Regions from separate parts of the Homo sapiens genome. Here regions 1, 3 and 4 are each linked to region 2. The links are contacts of gene promoters, found by promoter capture Hi-C in blood cells and fetal thymus (Javierre and others, 2016). All regions are on one chromosome and are shown on one strand. The core of a region is centred on a gene start or on the middle of the fragment in contact, and the rest is flanking DNA. Distances in the headings are between cores, read along the strand shown. Region 1 holds the start of LOC105369690 (a long non-coding RNA gene). Region 2 holds the start of GYS2 (glycogen synthase 2). Region 3 has its middle 46 kb from the start of ABCC9. Region 4 overlaps CMAS (cytidine monophosphate N-acetylneuraminic acid synthetase).

What was found. The method cuts DNA at HindIII sites, captures the fragments that hold promoters and counts their contacts. A CHiCAGO score of 5 or more calls a contact.
Region 1: a fragment that was not itself captured here is called in contact with the fragment with the promoter of GYS2 in region 2 in 1 of 17 cell types (naive CD4 T cells); the score reaches 5.0 in naive CD4 T cells.
Region 3: a fragment that was not itself captured here is called in contact with the fragment with the promoter of GYS2 in region 2 in 2 of 17 cell types (naive CD4 T cells and total CD4 T cells); the score reaches 5.9 in naive CD4 T cells.
Region 4: a fragment that was not itself captured here is called in contact with the fragment with the promoter of GYS2 in region 2 in 3 of 17 cell types (total CD8 T cells, total CD4 T cells and naive CD4 T cells); the score reaches 5.5 in total CD8 T cells.

The regions. Positions count from the first base shown.
Region 1 is chr12:22,077,925-22,083,322 of GRCh38, forward strand. LOC105369690 (a long non-coding RNA gene) reads right to left here and starts at 4,603. Exons shown (of 5, transcript XR_931423.4): 1 at 4,462-4,603. The HindIII fragment of the contact is 1,659 bases long and covers 1,244-2,902 here.
Region 2 is chr12:21,602,053-21,607,192 of GRCh38, forward strand. It overlaps GYS2 (glycogen synthase 2), which reads right to left and starts at 2,795. Exons shown (of 16, transcript NM_021957.4): 1 at 2,420-2,795. The coding sequence starts at 2,540. The HindIII fragment of the contact is 12,472 bases long and covers 1-3,565 here.
Region 3 is chr12:21,984,699-21,989,833 of GRCh38, forward strand. No RefSeq gene overlaps it. Among named protein-coding and RNA genes, the nearest start is that of ABCC9, 46 kb to the left of the region's middle. The HindIII fragment of the contact is 2,928 bases long and covers 401-3,328 here.
Region 4 is chr12:22,058,032-22,063,306 of GRCh38, forward strand. It overlaps CMAS (cytidine monophosphate N-acetylneuraminic acid synthetase), which reads left to right. Exons shown (of 8, transcript NM_018686.6): 4 at 536-669; 5 at 2,801-2,895; 6 at 3,250-3,421; 7 at 4,250-4,403. Among named protein-coding and RNA genes, the nearest start is that of CMAS, 14 kb to the left of the region's middle. The HindIII fragment of the contact is 1,555 bases long and covers 1,718-3,272 here.

The DNA of each region.
Region 1 (5,398 bases), core at 823-3,322, 480 kb after region 2:
AGCTTGCTTAGGGGAAGAGGAGCAGGATCTTGTCTTTATGGGTACCACCTCACTTTTGGAGCAGAAAGTGGGGTGCTTTTAAAGGGGGCCCAGCATGCTGGCATGAATGACATGCAGAGGAGTCAGTGAGCAGGTGGGGGGTCTGCATACTAGCCTCGGTGCCTTATCTACCGGGTGGTCAAGCTGGTAACTGCTGGTCCCTTTGTGGACAAGACTAGGTTGTAAAAGCAGCAGAAAATTCTCCAGGTGGGAGAGAGTTTCACAGTGGAAATACTTTAGGTAGTAGATGGACTGTTGTTTCTTTAGGCAGCCTCCTGGTAGGAGAGTTTCACTCTGGAGCTTCTAACAACCTAGTTAAATAAACTTGCCCTCTAGGGAGTGTCTGGTGAAGAGGAGGTAAAGGCTATAACTGCATTTCTAAAGACCTAAGTAGGAAGTGGGGAAAAGAAGGAGAGCGAGAAGAAGAAAGATAGTAAAAAACTATCTCTTAGAAAAATGAGGGTACACAGTTACACTATGATTAATAAAAAAAGGGATGGAAAAAAGTACACAACATGCAAAATCAGATAGATAATGTCAATACAGACAGAAACTATGAGAAAGAATCAAAAGGAAATGCTAGAAATCAAAGAAACAGTAGCAGAAATGAGGAATGCCTTTTGGTGGTTTATCAGTAGACTTGAGATAGCTAAGGAAAGAATAGGTAAACTTGAATATTGGTCAAATTTTTTTTTTTTTTTTCTGAAACGGGGTCTCACTCTGTTGCCCAGGCTGGAGTGCAGTGGCGTGATCTTGGCTCACTGCAACCTCCACCTCCCAGGTTCAAGTGATTCTCCTGCCTCAGCCTCCCAAGTAACTGGGATTACAGGCACGCACCACCATGCCTGGCTAATTTTTGTATTTTTAGTAGAGACGGGGTTTCACCATGTTGGTCAGCTGGTCTCGAACTCCTGACCTCGTGATCCACCCGCCTCGGCCTCCCAAAGTGCTGGGTTACAGGCGTGAGCCACTGCGCCCGGCCAGAATATTGCTCAATTTTAAAAGTTCCCAAACTGAAAAACAGAAGGAAAATAAATTTTAAAAAAGAATACAATATGCAAGAACTGTGGGCCAATATCAAAAGGTATAACTGAATACCAGAAGCATAAGAAATAGAACAGGACAGAAGAAATATTTGAAATAATACATGGCTAAGAACTCCCAAAACTAATGACAAACACCAAAGCCAACCTTTCTGTGGCTAAGCTTCCTGGCTCTAATTGAAGATAATAACGGTATCATCAAACTACAAATCCAGGAAGCTCAGAGAAGTCCAAAACAAACAATTAAAAATAAAATCCTACAACCAGGCATTTCATATTCAAACTGCAGCAAATCAAAGACAAAGAAAATCTTGAAGGAAGCCAGAAGGAGAAAAAAAAAAAAACAAACCAGAACTAAGGATACAGATTATATCAGATTTGGCTTCAGAAACACGTGAGCAAGAAGAGTGAGGTGAAATCTTTGAAATGCTGAAACAAACCCTGTCAACCTATATTTCTATATTCAGCAAAATTTTCCTTCAACGGTGAAAAATAAAGCCTTTTGTGGAGAAAACTGAGGGATTTCATTGCCAGCAGACCTGCCCTGCAAAAATGTTAAAGATATTCTTCAGAGAGAAAAAAAAATGATATAGGTCAAAAATTATACAAAGAAAAGCATTAGAAAAGGAACAAGTGAAATTAAAATAATATTTTTAATTGATCTAAAAGATAGCTATTTAAAGTAATAATAGTAACAATGTATAGGGTGACTATAGCATATGGACAAGTGAAATAATTGACACCAATGTCACAAGGAATGGGAGGAATGAATCGGGAGTAGTCTTATAAAGTTATATAATGTTATTTGAAGGTGGACTTATTTTAAAATATATATTGTAAACCCTAGGGATATTACTAAATTTTTTATAAAAGATATATGATATACCAAGTAAAGATATAAAATCAAATCATACAAAATGCTTAATTAACCCCAGAGAAGTCAGAAAAACAGCAGGAGAAAGAAATAAAGAACAAATGCAATGAACAGAAAACAATTACAAAGATGGTAAATTTTAATGCAACTATATCAATAATCCCTTTAAATATGAATGTTCTAAACACACCAGAGACTGTCAGGTTGAATTAAATTAAAAAAAAAAACTAGACTTACCTGTGTGCTGGCTACCACAAACCTACTTTAAATTTAAAGACTCAGAAAAGTTAAAAACAAAATGATAGGAAGAGAAATTCCATGGTAAATCGATCAAACGACAGTATCATATGCTCTGTCAATTATCAATTACTATATAACAAATAGCTTCAAAGCACGTTTACTTGAAAAAATAACTACTTTTTCATAATTCTGTGGATCAACAATTTGGGCTAAGGTAAGTAGAGTTGTTTTCATGGTCTCACTCTGTGGTTGCAGTCAGTTGATGGTGGGAATCGATGAACAGTCCAAGTCAATTTCCCTCACATATATCTACTGGTGTCTGGGCTGTTCTCTTCTTGCAGTCTTTCAACTTTAAGGAAACTAGTTTAAGTGTCTTAACGTGACAGTCTCTGAGCAGCTGGAAGGTGAGATTGGATGCTGCAACACTTTTTGATAACTTCCCCAGAAGTCACACAATGTTACTTCAGCCTCAATTTTACTGGTCAAAGTGAGTCAAGTTACTGACCATCCAGCTCAGATCAAGGGGTCAGAAGATGGAGTCTACTTTCTAATGGAAGGAGTTTAATTTTTAATGCATTATATATGTTGATACATCTGGGTTTGGAAATTTGAGAAGGTGAAAAGAGAAAGATCTTTTTGAGGGTTTTTATTCTAATTATTTTGCATTTTGGAATTTGGACAAGTTTAGCCAACCTTTCCGTGGCTAAGCTTCTTTGCTCTAATTGAAGATAATAACAGTATCACCTCACAGGATTGTGAAGATTCAATGAGATAATATATATAGCATGTCTAGAGGAGTACCTGGCTCGTGTAGGGCCTCTAAATGTTTATTATTATTGGCAATAAATGAACTTAGTTTCTAGCTTCAACATTGTCACGAACTAGCTAAGGTATGCTTTTCAAGACATTTAACACCCACAAGCCAGTTTATTTGACTATAATCTGAGGCGCTTATAATAGATGATCTCTATTGTCCCTTTTAATTGTCCCTTCTAATTCTACAGATGCAAATGTACTAATGTTTTACTTAGAAGAAATATTTCACATAGAAGAAACATATATCATATTTATGATTAACATGAGCATTTAAGGCTCTGGGGATGATTGGCTACAAATTATAGTGCAGAAGTCTTAAATTTCTTAGTACATCAGTGAACTTAGAAAAGAAATATTCTTTATTATTATGTATGTATTTATTTGTAGAGATGAGGTCTCACTACATTACCAGGCTGGTCTTGAACTCCTGTGCTGGAGCCATCCATCCGCCTTGGCCTCCTGAAGAGCTGGGAGCAGAGGCATGAGCCACTGCACCCAGCCAATACTCTGTATTAAACCATGATTCATTGAAGGGGAAGAGCTATCAAAAGTAAGTAATTTTATTTGTGAAGATTGTTTACCTTTTCTCAATTTAACAATGAATAGCATTTAGCATGTCAAAGATTATTACATTTCCTGAAATTGTTAGGTTGGTGCAAATGTGATTGTGGTTAATGGCAAAAACCACAATTACTTTTGCCCCAACCTAATAAAAAGCCAAATAAGGCACAAGCTCACCACCTCGGCAAACAAATATAGGGGAATGGGATGATATGAGTCTGGCGAGGTGAATAAACAGAGGCCAGATTGTACTGGTTTTTGTGAGTTACATTAAGACATTTTTGCTTTATCCTGAAAATAAGGGTAGAGAGAGACCCTTAAAGGGCTTGAAGCAGAAAAATCTTTTCAAGTGGAGGTGAAATTTGAGCTGGATCTTAAACTAGAAAATTTCATTGGTGTCAAAGGACAATATCAAAAAAAATGGAGTTAACGTTTGTGTTCAGATAATGGAAGAGGTCGTTATCTGTATAGGCCTGAAAGGATCTACAAGGTAATGGTAAGAAATGAGACCAGAAACACAGGACCAAATTGGAGATGACCTTCAAAAGAAAATGCTTGATTCCTGTGTTGACTTTGAAATGCTTAATTTCCTTCGAATCCAATCTATTCCACTACCACTTTACTTGTCTACTTTATGCTTTCTGTTCCCTTTGTAAAAGTCTCAGTGACTCCATGCTGCCCACAGAATAAGGTAAACAATTCCCAGTCCAAGTGTTATAGTTCTCTTTTGTATCCTTCCTGCCACTCCGCCCTGATTATGAAACCAGCAGACAGCCAGGCGTTAGCCCTCCTCTCCTTCCCCCAACCCCTGCCCTTTCTTCTCTTAAAGCCCTCTCTTCCTTCACAGCCTTAAGTATATATCGAAGTGTTCATTGGCTTAATACTTACCTTCAAGTTACAGAAGATCGAAAAGCCTGTTTATTTTGTCGGCATCATATTGCGTCAGTGTGGTGGACGCTGTGTTGGGCCGTAGAGCTCACCCTTGAGCCTGGAGGTCTTATCCCCCTCAGCTGCTGGGAGTGTTGTCAGTAGACAAGCCTCAGCTGTCAGGCCTCTTCAGCGCTGCCTCACCTAAGGTTACTCCCTTTCTGGGAGTAGCCCACATCCAGTGACTGGATGGAGGCAGAGGATAAAAGCCCTGCTTCATTACCCCAAGAATGGACAACAGCTGAGAGGCCAGGCTAGCTTCAGCGCTCTCTGTGAGTCAACCGAGGCTGTATAGGAACCATCTCCTCTCTCTCTCCACAATCCTCCTCCTTCGTTTTCCATCTACAAGTGCGATCCCAGGAGCCTGCCTTCACAAACATCATGGACATTAATCTCCCTCCCCAAGCCTGCTTCTCAACCCAGGACACCAGGAAATATTTTTGAATGAGCAAGTGAAAGAATGTCCAAAATATCCTGTACCTTTTGGGATGGGTACTGGCTAAAGTAATTACTGTTATCTGAATTGCCAAGCTAAGCATGTTAATGATTTTCTAATTATTTAAAGGACCATGTGTGAAGTCTTAATAATCTCTGTTGTACTCTCCTGCATTTGGTCATTGGTTCTTTGCTATATACTGATGCAAATTACTTTTTCCAAGTTTAAAAGCTTTTTTTTTTTTTTTTTTTTTTTTTTTTTAGGAATGTGTCACCTTTGATAACCTGGTGCTTTTATCTGCCTGAACTGGTTGGGAAAGTTCTACTAAATACAGTACTAAAGAAAGTTGGTTTGTCCACATTTCATTGGTGACATTCCCAGTGTAGAACCTTTTCATGCTTTGTTATTGAATAGCTCTCAAAATTTAAAGTTGATGCAATATTATTTGTATGCTGATGAAAA
Region 2 (5,140 bases), core at 1,545-4,044:
TGTGAATACATTTCCTTGTTTGCCAGAAAACATGGTAAGATAACTGGAGAGTATAACATTCATTTTATTCATGAAGAAACTGTTATTCAGTTTAAGGGGTTCTTTTTCAGAAAGTTTCAGAAATCCAAGACCTTTGACTGCAAGTACTGTGTTCTTTCATCTATAGGACATTTCCTTTGAAAACTGAGGTTTTAATATTTAATTCTTACATAATAGTAAAAAAGTGAATTGGCCTTGGAAAAGACCTAAATCCTGGTCCTAACTCTGCCATTTGCTTGATCATTAAATACCTCTACGAATCAATTTGCTCTATGAACTGGAGGAGTGGGATTCATGATCTCTAAGATACCTCATATCACTACTATGAAATGCAGGGAAGTAAAAATTCAAATCATTAAATTTAAAGAAACTATAGTGGCAATGTATTATTAGGAATAAACACAATAATTATCCATCTATATGAAAATCTCAAACCATACCAGGCTATGATAATATTAAAATAAAGATACATTGAAGATGATATCAACTTGTGTAAATCACATTGTGGGGACCTCTCCACAAAAACACTTCCCTTCCCCTTGAAAGGGAAATGATAGAAAATAAGTATTAAAGGCAGCTTAGGGGTTGAAAAACAAATTTTTTCAAAAAAAAATCCATTGAGCATTTTCTATGTACCAGGCACTGTTCTAGACCCTGAGATCAACACACATGCTACTGATTATAAGATCCATAAAATAACTTAGTTTCACTGGCGTGTTCCCAGTGCCCAGGTAACAGTGCTCCATTAATGTTTGTTAAATGATGAGAAAAGAGGAAAGCAGAAGGGGCTCTGCTCAGGTGCAGGAACTTGTGCAGAGATCTTCTGGACTGATTCCCAGTGCTAACAAGTCCCTTCCAGTTTTATCCACCAATAAGCTATGTCCTTGAGCTCCTGCCCACTCTCTAGAGAAAACTTTTATTTCAAGGCATACTCCGGGATTCACATGTGATAGAGATGGTTCTGTTCCCAGGAACTTTGGGCATATTTAAAAACTGGACTGGAAAAATTTGTGACTAGAAAAAGGACATTAAAAACACATGCTCATTTCAGGATAAAGATCTCTGAGGAAAAGAATACAAAATAATTTAAAAAGAAACAACAGAAACAGGTACACATAAAATACTTCACTTCTCTGTAATAAGGTTTCTGTCCTCCTAGATTCTTTCTCACTAAACTACAGAGAATAAGACCGTGCTTTGTTCTCTTATATGCATTCTGTCCACTTCTACATAGGCAAAATTGACTTTTAATTTTGATTTTATGAATGCATACACACGAGAACTTTGAACAGTTAGTATAAGGTGAATTCTGATTTTTCAGAATGCATGCCATATATAATGCATTTAATTTTGAGATTATGCTGGCTCTGATTAGCCAAAAGAAGGAAGTAATATATCACATTCTGGTTATTATTTCAGATCCTTTAGATTACTGTAATAGACATGAAATAGTAAACACAAAATGAAAAATAAATGTGTTATATATCACAACACATGACATAATTTCAGATCGTTTAAATCACACAAGTCATCACTGCCATTTACCCAGCAATCAGTTGGCTTGATTCTTCAAGATCTTGAGGAACTCAGCCTTCAAAACCATGACTTTTTCTTTGCTAATGTTCCTTCAATAGTCTTGACACTTTTAAACTAGAGAGTATAAACCCACAAGGAATTGTTTTATAATTTTACAGATGTCTTTATTTTCAAAATCATTTACATTGTGGTTCTCTACCTTGCCTTCTCTTACCCAGCACAGATGAGGTTATACCTCACTCGCAAATTGTTTTATCAATTTGATTTTCTTTATTTTATAATTCCTACATAAGCATAGCATTGAAGAAAAAAATTACTTTCATTCTGAAAGGAGCACAGTATTTTGCCTTTTGAGAAGCTCCTGAATTAAAACATTAATTCCAAGCTAATTGTGAATATGAAACATTCTTAAGCATTTCATATAATTACTAACAGAATGTAGAGTTGAGGTTTCCAACTGGTTCTAATCACATATACATCTTCCTAAAATAAAATGTTTAATTATACTATTTTGCTGAGAAAAATTTTAAAACAAAAAATGTAAATATTAACTTTTTATTTCTATGTTGTCATAATATGGATTTTAAATTTTAATTTAAATGCACATTCCATGGCAATGGCTAATATTTTCAACTTTCTCCCTCTTCAACACATACACAAGTCTGTATTCATAGCCTGTTGTAATAGACAAGGTTAAATGTAGCCTAAATATATATTCCGTTTAAATGCTTTCCTCACTCACTAGCAATTGGTTATCACTAGAGAGTTATCTGTGAAATCTTACTCTACATTCCTCAGTCACCTAGTGAAGGTGTACTGATCCACCTTCAGGAGCAGTACAAACCTTTATTGGTCACTTCCCAAGCAACTTCAAAGAGCAGTAACTCCTCCACAGGAAGTTCTTCGACTTCCCACTGGGGAAGCCCACCCAGGGATGTTACAGAGAGGGATCGGCCTCGAAGCATTCTTCTTACAGTCCTCCGAGACTCCTTTGAATTCCTGTTTCAATTAGTTGTAATCCCAGGAGAAGAGAACTTACAGGCACAAAAGTTAGAGTTGGTAGAGTTACCAGGCTTTGGTAGCTTCTCTTGGGAATAAACTAGTAGCATGAAATCTTATGTGCTTCCCACAGAATTCCTGGTGGAAGGAGGAATTCTTCCTCCTCTTTCTCGTCTTTCTGGGCAGGTATTGTGAGGACGGTATCTGCCCTGTCAGTATCTACCCAAACAATCCAGAGCTGTCAACAGAAAAACCCTCTGATTCAGGACATAGGTAAGCACTTCCTGGGATAGGCAGGGCATGACCCAAGTTCAGCCTTTTAGCCCTTGTCCTTTTGACCAGACTCCTAGATTCATACAGTTACCAATGCTTATTTCATCATTTCCAAAGTGATACAATATTGGCAACTCCCCTCATTAAGTTTGCAGGCCTCCTTAGATTACATGTAGACTGATTGGGACATATTTTTATGCTTTAAATCCCTTTGGATTTCCTAAATATTCTTCTTTCTTTTGATTCCTATTTCTAGAGCTTTTAAAAAATATTCCTAGTTATTTTATTCTACACTTACAAATTGAATTTTGGTGATAGCCAGAGATCTTGAGCCCCCTTTTCTCAATTACTTTTCTTAAAACTTTCCCTATAAAAAAGCATAAATTTGAGTATGTCTTTGGGTGTAACATGAAAAAAAACATAATTTTGACTGGTCAATAATCATCAGTCAATAATTTTAATGAGGTAGTAAAAATAAATCTTTGTCATGTTTGTACATTTCCTTCAAATATTATCAAATTGATAAAGAATAATTCAGTCAATGTAAATGTTCAAACATGGGAAGAAAAATCATCAGGATCAGACTGCAGATAAATGGCATATGTTTGCTTTTCCCTTGTGTTTCTATGTTTGTAAATATATATGTTCCAATTTATTTACACACCCATACACATATATCCTATATTGTACCTACAGAGAGTTGGTGCATTCACAAGCAAGCTTAATTTTGAGCCATCTTTACAGATGTAGCTAAAATCAATATTTTTACATTATTATTCTCTAAAGCAGCAGAACTGAAGCTCATACAAAATATCCTTTAAGTTAGAATTACAATCAGAATTGTAATTTGTTACTTGATAATACTATTTTAGCACCTTTTATTAGGTTTTAAATTATTTTCTATATACTTGGTCTTATAGACTTACACTTATTTTAATGACTCAAGATGGGCAGAACCACATTTCATTATATTACATTAATAAATCTATGTAAGCCAAATAGATTAAATATGTCAGCTTGATGTGGTAGTACACACCTGTTGTTCCAGCTACTCAGGAGGCTGAGGGGGATGAATCACTTGAGCCCAGGAGTTTAAGGCCAACCTGAACAACCACTCTCTTAAAAAATAAAATAAAATAAAAAATTAATTAAAACAAAAATAAATAAATGTCATCTATGATTTTGTGACACAGTTGATTCTTATCTTTGTCCAGAAAAGTACATTTAAGTACATAGTTTGTTATCCATTTGTTTGCGTTGTGAGAAAAAGATTATATGGCTAATAAAAAAAATCAAGTACTAAAATAGAAAACATATGATCCCAAATGATCAAAATGATTGTCTCCTTTATAAAATGGTTTGCTTATGTTCACATAACCTCTGAGAGTCCTGCAAGTGCACATTCCAGTAAAACCAAATCTAAGGACATGTTGACAGGAGTGAGAATGGGATGACAGTGATAGAGTTTCACGTTTGCAGTTTTCTGTTCCAGGAGCCTTGAGATTGGTTCATCCAGTGTCACACAGGCTACAGGAGCACAATGATCCATATTCTCCAGCTTACATGATAAGGCTGAATTATTTATTTGCAATCTGTTCCAGGTATCAACTGCTTAGTTGTGAGTTAGGCACTTGTGGCATCACTTATCTGCTGTGTAAACTTGAGCCAATTTCTTACCTAAGTTTTTGTTTTCTTGATAAAATGGGGATGAGATAATCTATATAAGTCACTTAACATTGTGCCTGGTACTATGCCAACCACTTTAGTAATCTTAGCCTTTTTTATAACACATATGATGGTTTAGTAAAAGCTTTCCCTAATGGCAGAGGTTACCATTGAAAAGGAAAGGGGTAAAAAGAAGGCTTTACTTTTCTTTCATTTTTTTGAAGTTGTACCACCTGTATATATTACCTGATCAAATGCCTAGAGAAAACATTTTTTTCAGAAAAATGACCTTAAGATCAATGAGTATATTTTATAACATCCTAAATGAAAATAAGTAGGATGTAAAATAAAATAAGTAGTATGATTGATTTAATTTTGTGAAAATGTACTCTATACCTCTGTTCATGAAGTATATGTAATAGAAGGCTGGAATAGACATAAACAAAAGACGGGAGGCTACATGTAAAAACTCTTACAATAGTTGTCTTAAACTGGTTGTAATTATGATTGATATTTGTGTGGTATTTTTATTTGTGTTCTACACATTTTCTGCAATAAACGTATACATATATATATATATATATATATATATATATATATATACCGTATATAGGATGAGTAACACAGT
Region 3 (5,135 bases), core at 615-3,114, 380 kb after region 2:
AGTCCTATAAAAGTATAGCACATACAATTATGTACAGTACATAATAGTTGATAGTGATAATAAATGACTTGCTGGTTTATATATTTACTATACTTTTTATAGTTACTTCAAAGTGTACTTCTTCTTATTAAAAAAAAAAGCTAATTGTAAAATATCCTTAGGCAATTCCTTCAGAACTTCCTTCTTATTCCAGAAGCAGGCATTGTTATCATAGAAGATGACATGGGTGTTATTGCTCCTAAAGACCTTCCAATGGGTCTTCCAGTGGGGCACGATGTGGAGGTGGCAGACAGTTATATTGATGCTCCTGATGCTGTGTAGGCCTAGGCTAATGTGTGTGTTTTTGTCTTAGTTTTTAGCCAAAAAGTTTTAAAAGTAAAATAAATTTTAAAATAGGAAAAGCTTTTAAAGGTATAAAGAAAGAAAATAGTTTTGTATAGCTATACAATGTATTTTAAGTATCATTGCAAAAGAGTCAAAAAGTTAAAAAAAGATTGAAAAGTTTGTAAAAGTAAAAAAGTCAGCTAAGATTAATTTACTATTGAAGAAACAATTTAAAAAATAAATTTAGTACAGCCTAAATGTACAGTGTTTATAAAGTCTGCGGTAGTATACAATAATGTCCTAGGCTTTCACATTCACTCATCACTCATTCACTGACTCACCCAGAGCAAATCCAGTCCTGCAAGCTCCATTCATGATAAGTGCCCTAAATAGGTCTACCGGTTTTTATGTTTTATACTGTATTTTTAGTGTACTTTTTCTATTTTAGATATGTTTACATACATTAGTACTTACCATTGTGTTACAATTACCTACAGTATTCAGTATAATAATATGCTGTGCAGATTTGTAGCCTAGGAGAAATAGACTATAGCATATAGCTTAGGTGTGTAAGACGCTACACTATCTAGGTTTGTGGAAGATCACTCTACGATGTTCACACAATTAGAAAATCAGCTACGGATGAATTTCTCAGAATGCATCTCTATTGTTAAGTAAAGCATGACTGTATAAAAGTTGACTTCATATTAGGCTACAAAGCAAATCTCAACAAGTGCCACAGAATTTATATATCTTGCAGAAGCACATTTTCTTACCATAACAAAATTAAAAATTAAACCAAGGTAATTAAGAGTCCATATACTTGGAGATTTAAAAGTACACTTTTAAAACTTTAATTGTCAAAGAAATCTTTTTTTTTTTTTTTCCCTAGAGTCTGGATCTCACTCTGTCACCCAGCCTGGAGTGCACTGGTGTGATCATAGTTCACTGCCACTTTGAACTCCTGGGCTCAAGTGATCCTCCTGCTTCAGTCCCCCAAGTAGCTAGGACTACAGGCATACCACCACACCTGGCTAACTTTTAAGGTTTTTTTTTTTTGTAGAGACATGGTCTTTCTATGTTTCTCAGGCTGGTCTCAAACTCCTGGACTCAAGTGATCCTCCCACCTTGACCTCTCAAAGTGCTGAGATTACCGGTGTGAGCCACCGCGCCCAACCTCAAAGAAGAAATCTTAATTATGATAAAAACATACTTCATGTTTTACAAAAACACTGCACATCAAAACACAGAATAAAGTTGAAGCAATCCTTAGATGAATTTTATAGTGTATGTTCACATATTACAGATGAGGAAATATTAAAAATGGGTTATCTAAACATCAAAATCAGGAGTGAAAAAATTGTAAACCCAACGAAAGCGGCTTACAAAAAAAAATAAAGAGCAAATAATAATAACAAAGTGAAAAAAACACACTCAATAGGGTAGATCAAGAAATTATAGCACAACATGATAACTTGTGAGGAGAGTATGTTCAAGTTTCCTCCTGTGCGCAGCGGCTTCCTAGAGTCCTTCGTGCCGAGTCCTGTCTCCCTGTCTAACCCCACTTCCTTCTACTCTTCCTCTCTCTCTCCTCTTCTCTTTCTTTTCCTCAAACATGCCAACCTCCTTCCACCTATTTAAGACCTTTGCACTTGCTCTTTTCTCTGCCTGGAGCACTCTGCTCTGTTTTTGCATTCATCACAAACTTCTTTGTTGCATTCACATTTGCATTAAAAAAGTGTTTACTGAAAATCAGTGATGTTCCTGACAGTAGAGATACAGCAGTGAACAGAATAAACAAAAATATCTGTAATTATGGAATGTATGTTCTAGTAGCTGGCAAATTTTCACTCAGTAAGGTCTTCCCTGACCACCAATATAAATGCCAATGTTACTTATTTTCCTGTTTTCCTATTTATTACGTTTCTTTGCACTAGTGTGCCACATCTTTGAGAGAAGAGACCTTGTCTATCTTGTTTGTCACCTTTACTCTGAGGGCATGGAATGATACCTAAAACAATTATGTGTTCAAGAGCTATTAGGTAAAAGAATGAATGCATGAATAGGGGATTCATGGAAGGTGTCTCCTCAATTATATTTGAGGAAAACATTTGCCTGAAGCAAAGGGGTGTGTGTGTGTGTGTGTGTGTGTGTGTGTGTCACCAAGCAGAACAAAGATTCTGTGTAAACTCAAGAGAATGGATACTGTGGCATTAGAATGAGAGGTTAGATGGGCAGGCAGGGACCAGATGCAAATAGTCTGGTTGCTATGCAAAAAGAGTGGACATTTCATCTTACAAATAACAGTGCGCATGATGGCCATTTGTTTCAACACAAGATGGGAAATTTAAATCTCCTTTGGGGATTTAATTTTAAAAGTAAAGAATGTTTCTATTTGGTTTGAAAACAACAACTCTTTGGTTGTAATTATTTTTATGAGCTCAGTTTTAGTTAACATATAATATATAACTGCAAACACTATACAGTTGATAAAGGACATTTCATTAATAATCAACTTTACATGGTGCTTTATTGGAACACTGAAATAGGTGTAGATCAAGCACTGGAACTTAGTTATGTACAAACTTAGAATGTATTTTCCCATAACTGGTGTCAAGTTTACTTTCAGTGTGCCCACTTGTGCCATCATCACCATCAACATCAGATCTCACATGGATTGCATGGCTCTTATATTCAAGTCACTGTTCTAATCCATTTAATTTTCTCAAAAACTCTCGGTGCAGGGACAATGAGTTGCTCTAAGTCCCATAGCTAGCACATGGAGTAGGCAGGATTCAAAATGTGGTAGTTCAGCTCTGCAGCCTGTGCTCTTAACCCTTATTCCTCACCGCTTCCGTCCTTCCTGAATTCCATCCCACCCACTGAGTTTTGTCACCTAATCTTATGGAAACATGTACTCTGCAGATTTAGGTCATCTTCCCATGCCCTCCTTCTCCGCCTCACTGATTTTCTTTGCCTACCTCCAATCCTGTTCCTCCTCACAAGCTTCTGCCACTGATGCCATCCCTGGTCTGACCCCTGGAATGGAAGGTCCTGGTGAAAGACAAAAGTCATAGTCGGGTGCTTTCAAAGGGACGGGAGTCTGTGTTCTCAATCAGATTCAGTCTGTCAGTTGTCTCTAGGGATGTGGGATCTTCATGTAGGTGGCATATGGAATTTTCTAATCAACGTTTATCTTCCCCTGACCCCTCATCAGTGGTGCACACACCTTCCTCTGTGTACATTCTCCTGAGCAATCTGAGTGGCTCCTGTCCCTCTGTTCAACTCTTGGCTCTCTCACTTGGAATCTTGAGAACTAGCCTCCGTGAACTCTGGGAACTGGGATATAGTGGCCCTCAGCTCTCATCTTCATAGGAACACTGTGATACTCTCATGCTCTGCTGGCTTCTGGCATCAGAGGATCTCCTCGGCAGTGGGGTTTCTGCCTTCACGAGTCTCCAGATGAAAAGTCAGTGGCATTCTCCAATTTTTAGAACCCTTCATATTTTAGAATATATAAATCTAGTGCCTCCTTCAATCTAGGGGTTGGGGGAGAAGTTAAATGCTTTAGAAATTGTGTTCTCAAGAAAGTGATCGCAAGACTCCATCTCAAAAAAAAAAGAAGAAAGTGACAATTTTTACCCTTCAGGGTGCTGTGAGAACCCATCATTTTATGAACTCAATGGTGGGTATCTCATACTACGGGAGTGGGGAACAGTAGACATTGTTCATGTTAAAAGGTGAACTCCCAGTGCCTTTTGTTCTCAGCTATTAGTTTAGCAAGTCCTACACAAAAGCAGTAACACCAGGGAGCTGGAAAGAATCTAAGTTGGTACATCACATCCCATTGTCCACATCAACACACTCATGACATAAAACCTTGCAAAGAAAGTGATATCAGCACCACTTGAATCAGTATAAGGAATTACAAGGACTTTATAGAGTTTAAGTGACTTCTGACAATAAGCACTTCTATGTATTAGCTCAAATATGTTAAGATTTAAACCATCACTTAAAATTCAAGAACAATATGACCTAGGCCTTTTATTTTGGTAATAAGATATATAGTTTACTTCTGAATGATTAATACTTCTACTAAATGTCAAAAGCCAAAAGCTACAAATTTTTCTTAGATAATACACATTTTTAGGTCTTTATATTAAATCAAATAATAAATTTAGCCATACTTTGTATCAATCCTAATAATATTCCTGACTACCAATATGAATGTTAATCTTACTTATTTTCAGTATTATATATTACATAAATATAGTATGATGATCCAGTAATTATTTCTTTAACACTTGGCTTATATTAAGCCTATTTTCCAATATGAGAAATACAGCTGGAACTACCTACCTCATTAGGGTCATAATAAACTGTACATAACAATACATTTAAAGCCAAGGACAGGCACTTAGTACATGGTAGTCATCATTCTGTCCTCAGTACTAAAATTTTTGCATAATTCTTTGTCTTCCATTCAAAATTTTTTGAATTTTTCAAAAAGTTCTTATCAGAAAATAACACAGCATGTCCTGTGCATTATATAGTTATTCATTCTAAAAGTACTGTGTTTTCAAGGGTCTGGTCATTGCCCAGGTCAAAATTGTATTGCTTGTGGCCAAAAACGTTTCTACCCACTTATTCTTGTCTTATCCTTGCTGATTGGTGGCACTTGTCAATAAATATTGGCAGTAAAGTCTTTGAGAGTGATGTCTCCTAGTCTCCTAGATACTGTTTAATGTAGATTTCAAGCCCTATTCTTGGAAAAAAATCCCTCAAAAAGATTTCAGTTCTCCAAAGCGGTA
Region 4 (5,275 bases), core at 1,245-3,744, 460 kb after region 2:
GGCTGGGCTGCTCTCGAACTCCTGACCTCAAGTGATCCGCCCGCCTTGGCCTCCACAGTGCTGGGATTACAGGCGTGAATCACCACATTCAGCCTAAAAAAAGTTCTTTATCAGGCCGGGTGCAGTGCCTCATGCCTGTAATTCCAGCACTTTGGGAGGCCGAGGTGGGCGGATCACGAGGTCAGGAGTTCGAGACCAGCCCGGACAACATGGTGAAACCCCATCTCCACTAAAAATACAAAAATTAGCCAGGTGTGGTGGTGCATGCCTGTAGTCCCAGCTACTTGGGAGGCTGAGGCAGGAGAATCGCTTGAACCCAGGAGGCGGAGGTTGCAGTGAGCCAAGATCGCACCATTGCACTCCAGCCTGGGTGACAGAGCGAGACTCTGTCTCAAAAAAAAAAAAAGAAAAGTTCTTTATCTAGATAAAGAAATGCTCTGCATTCTGAGTTCATTTTTATTAACTTTTTTAGTTACTAAATTAACACTTTCTATATTCAGGGCAACGTGGACTTACTCTAACTTTTTGCTTTTAGTTCGTGAAGTGACCGAACCTCTGAATTTAAATCCAGCTAAACGGCCTCGTCGACAAGACTGGGATGGAGAATTATATGAAAATGGCTCATTTTATTTTGCTAAAAGACATTTGATAGAGATGGGTTACTTGCAGGTTTGTACCTTCATTTTGCATAACCCTTTTAAGCGCTTTTGTAGGCATACTTTGAGTTCTAGGGAAGAAGTATGGTACAATTTCTTTATGATAAAGAAAAGTATCAACCTATAGAGGAAAGGTAATAGCCAACAACATTTGCTATCTGAGGCATTTATCCTGCAGGTTTACCCCAAAGTGATCTTTGGAATCCATTCAGTAAATATGCAAGGAATTCTGCTACAACGATAAAAAAATGAATCAAGTACTGGGTGTCTACACATGTCCTGGTACTCATATTATTCCACTCAAAACTACGTAATCCATGTTTGTGTTATAGTTATATTGTGGCTGTAGGGTTGAATAACTTCTATTGCTTTAAAAAGACAAATAATTTCATAGAGGTGAAAAGAGTTACAACCTGGGTGTCAGGAAACCCGGAATCTTTTTATATATATATATATATATATTTTTTTTTTTTTTTATTATACTTTAAGTCAACTGCCTCTTACTATGTAAGCTTGAATATGTATCATTTTATCTGTCCTGACTCTCATTTTCAAATAACAGATTTAATGTCTCTCTCATTTTAGAGCCTGCAACATGGTTGCATCATATATTTCTTAACTTGTTAATTTTAGTTATCATTATTATTTATTATTTACTGTGTACTTCGGAGTAGGTGAAACACTTTGCATATGTTATCTTATGTAATCTGCATAGCGAATGAATGAAGTGGACATTTCTACCCAGTTTTACAGAGGAGGAAAACTGCCTCACTGAAATATGAAGTAATTGACTCAAGGCAAAAACAGCTAATAAATGGTACTGTCAGGATTTGGATTCAGGTTCTTATGTTACTCAAGAAATAGCGGTTTTAAAGAGAGAGAGAGAAACCTCTCCATTGTGTAATAAAAATTCTAATGGGACTATTATTCTGAGCAAAAGAGAGAAAAACATTTTTACAAATCTTCTGGTCAATGTGTAGGCAAACTATAGACTAGCTGTTTAGTTAAATTTAAGTGTTCAGAAAAATTGGATTTGACACACATAGATACTACCATTTTTAAGCTTTTTTCTAAGGAGGACCATGATTAACCCATTCCTAAAGTGTGGAGAAAAATGTTTCTCATTAAAACAAGGTTTATGAAGAGACTGACAATTCTGAAAAAAAAAATGAAATTGAAATTGTCCAGTAATTGATCTTGTCATTCAAATAATTACTATCAGAAGAAAGACCCTTTCTCTTGCTGACCCTTGCCTAGAATCAAGAGACTGCCCTTGCCTTTGCCTGCATGTGACTTGGATGACTATTAGTCATTTTCATCAGTAGCTCAGAGATCTAAGAAAACTCTGTACAACAGATGCTACAGTTATTTTTCCTCCCCTGTGTTGCCTGTTAGTTGCAAATTAGAACAGAAGTTCCAAAAACCTTAATACTGCTTTTGGATGATGACAGGAGAGACTTCTTGAAAAAAAGGAGGATATGATTAAGGGATTTCCACAAAATCCCTTGTGGTCAGAAACCTGGAGGATGTAATATTTCTGCTTTTTTCAATATTAAAATAGAAATTTTCTTAAATAGGGAACTTGAACTGTTTAGATAGAATTTGAAAAATGTTAAGGTTATTTCTTTTGTGTGAGCTTTCTCCTTAAAAAAAAAAAAAAAAAAAAAAAAAAAGCTGGGCGTGGTGGCTGAAGCATGTCATCCCAGCACTTTGAGAGGCCAGCTTGAGGCCTCAAGAGGATAGCTTGAGGCCAGGTTTCCAAGACCAGCCTTGGCAACATAGCAAGATCTTATATCTACAAAAAACTTTTTAAAAATTTAGCCGGACATGGTGCTGTATACCTGTAGTACCAGATCCTTAGGAGGCTGAGGTGGGAGGATTGCTTGAGCCTAAGATTTCAAGGTTATAATGAGCTATGATTGCACCATTGCACTCCAGCCTGGGAGGCAGAGTGAAACCCTGACTCGAAAAAATAAAAAAGTAAAAATAAATTTAAAAATCATTTTTATGTGACTGATTTTTACTGGGTTATTCATTTTTCTCAGTACTGTAGAAATGAATTCATTGTTCTGTATTATAATAAAGTTTTGATATATGTGAATGAATATTAAAAACAGTATTCATGACATTTATACTACCTTTAGGGTGGAAAAATGGCATACTACGAAATGCGAGCTGAACATAGTGTGGATATAGATGTGGATATTGATTGGCCTATTGCAGAGCAAAGAGTATTAAGGTAAAAACAAATAAACCTTTATAACCTTTGTACTAAATCTTAATAATTATATTTCTAGATACTGATTTCTGATACTTCAGACATCTTAGGATCTTTGTAATTACTTTGTTCATGTGAGGAAGACATGTAAAATATGTGTTTACATGGCTTCAATAAAGTGAGAAACATTATCTGGCTAGACCACACTACTTTTACTTACTGTACTATATGTTAAAATATATATGTGAAGTAAATTTGGAGAGTAATGTTTGAATAATTGAATGGAGGGTGACATTTCATGTATTGGTTTAGCCAGATGAGAGGGAGTGATTAGTACTGCACTTGTACTCAAAGGTCTATTTTGGTTTCTTTTAGATATGGCTATTTTGGCAAAGAGAAGCTTAAGGAAATAAAACTTTTGGTTTGCAATATTGATGGATGTCTCACCAATGGCCACATTTATGTATCAGGAGACCAAAAAGAAATAATATCTTATGATGTAAAAGATGCTATTGGGATAAGTTTATTAAAGAAAAGTGGTATTGAGGTATGTGCTCCCTGAATATAGCAGTATTTTATAATATTTTGATTCAGGGTCAAAGAACATGCAAGGAATTAAGAGATTTAAATTTTTAGTATTAACTCTTAAAATATCTGAAATTTGGCCTTCATACGCCTAGAAAATTATTATACTATTTAGTTTTAGATGAGTAGAATTAGGAATTTGTTAATCAGCAAATAATATTTCTTGTTTATTCAGTAAATATAAACATAACTACTTTTAAATGGGAGCTATCTAATGTTTCCCAAAGGATCTTGCAGCAAGAAAGATTCCCTAGATAATAGGTGTACCATTTTAGAAAAGGACGATATCCTGTGGATTTTTAAAATCTAGCTTATTCTTATGAATGACATTTTTGATTCAAAATAACTTAACGTTTAAGTGTATTTTTTTAAATGAAAGCTAGCTAAGATAATTATAATTTACCAGAAATCCTAAATATGTATTGCTAAGCAGCACAAGAGAGAGGTTATAGACTTTCCTCTGGATAAATTGAATTATAGGAGAATCTTAGAGTAGTATCAGACAATATATGTTGTAATTTTTACCTGTAGATAGAATCCTTTCTATTGTAGAAAATAAAATACTGTGTCTCACCTTTATTGGGCTATGAGAAATAAAATGAGCTTTGTTTTAAAGCATCATGATTTTAATTCGACAGTCAGTTTTCTTACTTGGACCTTCAGAAAGTCAAAAGATGACTCGTTTGTGATTTGGACTGTCTACAAGGTCAATTATTATGAAAGATTTCTGTTTTCTTCACTTTTTAATTTTTCCCTTCTTCCTCCAATCCTTTTTTTTTTTTTTTTTAAGGTGAGGCTAATCTCAGAAAGGGCCTGTTCAAAGCAGACGCTGTCTTCTTTAAAACTGGATTGCAAAATGGAAGTCAGTGTATCAGACAAGCTAGCAGTTGTAGATGAATGGAGAAAAGAAATGGGCCTGTGCTGGAAAGAAGTGGCATATCTTGGTTGGTATCTTTTTATTCACCCATAGTAAAATGGACCAGGAATTAATTATTTACTTATTTTTAAAGAAATGACAAAGCACATCCTCCAAATGGGTATGATTGTAGGGAAATAGGAACTCTTTTAACAAACACTGCTGATCAAACTGTTAAACTGGGACAGTCTTTCTGGAGGTTAGTTTGATAATAGGTATCAAATGTAGAATGATTATTAGCACAAGCTGTGAAGTCAGACTGTACCACTGATTAGCCAGTTGTGATAAGATGAATGTTGTTTCCTCATCTGTAAACTGGAGATATCGAGAGTACCTATTACCGTAGGGCTCTGGAAGGGATTAATAAAATAATATGAGTAAAGCACTTAGCAGAATTTCTAGTACATATGAATTACACTCTGAATAGTTTTTGCTGCTAATTGAATGTACATACTTTTTCCTCCAAATTCCAATTCCAGGAAAGAAATGAGACAAATGGGCCAATAGTGAAGTTAAAAGAACCCACTTAAATGTCCTGTGAAAAATAGAATATCCCTAAAAAGGATTACTATGCAACCATTACAAACAGTGCTGTGACCTGTATTTATTTGCATGATCAAATATAACAATGTTTTTCACTTGGATATTAAGCAATACACTTACTTACCAGGTACCTATGATGATACGCAGCATGGAACTGGTTGTGGGAACTGTAGGCTTTCTGCTTGCAGAGCTTACAGTCTGATGATGTCAACATTTTAAAATTGATAAGTTATTAAGATGCATAATAACTATAAATCATGTATGAAAGCAGTATTTACAAGGGTAATATGAGCCTCAAAATAAGAAGCACAGGAAAAACTTTGGGAGCATGTGATCTAGAGACTTCAGGAATAACCC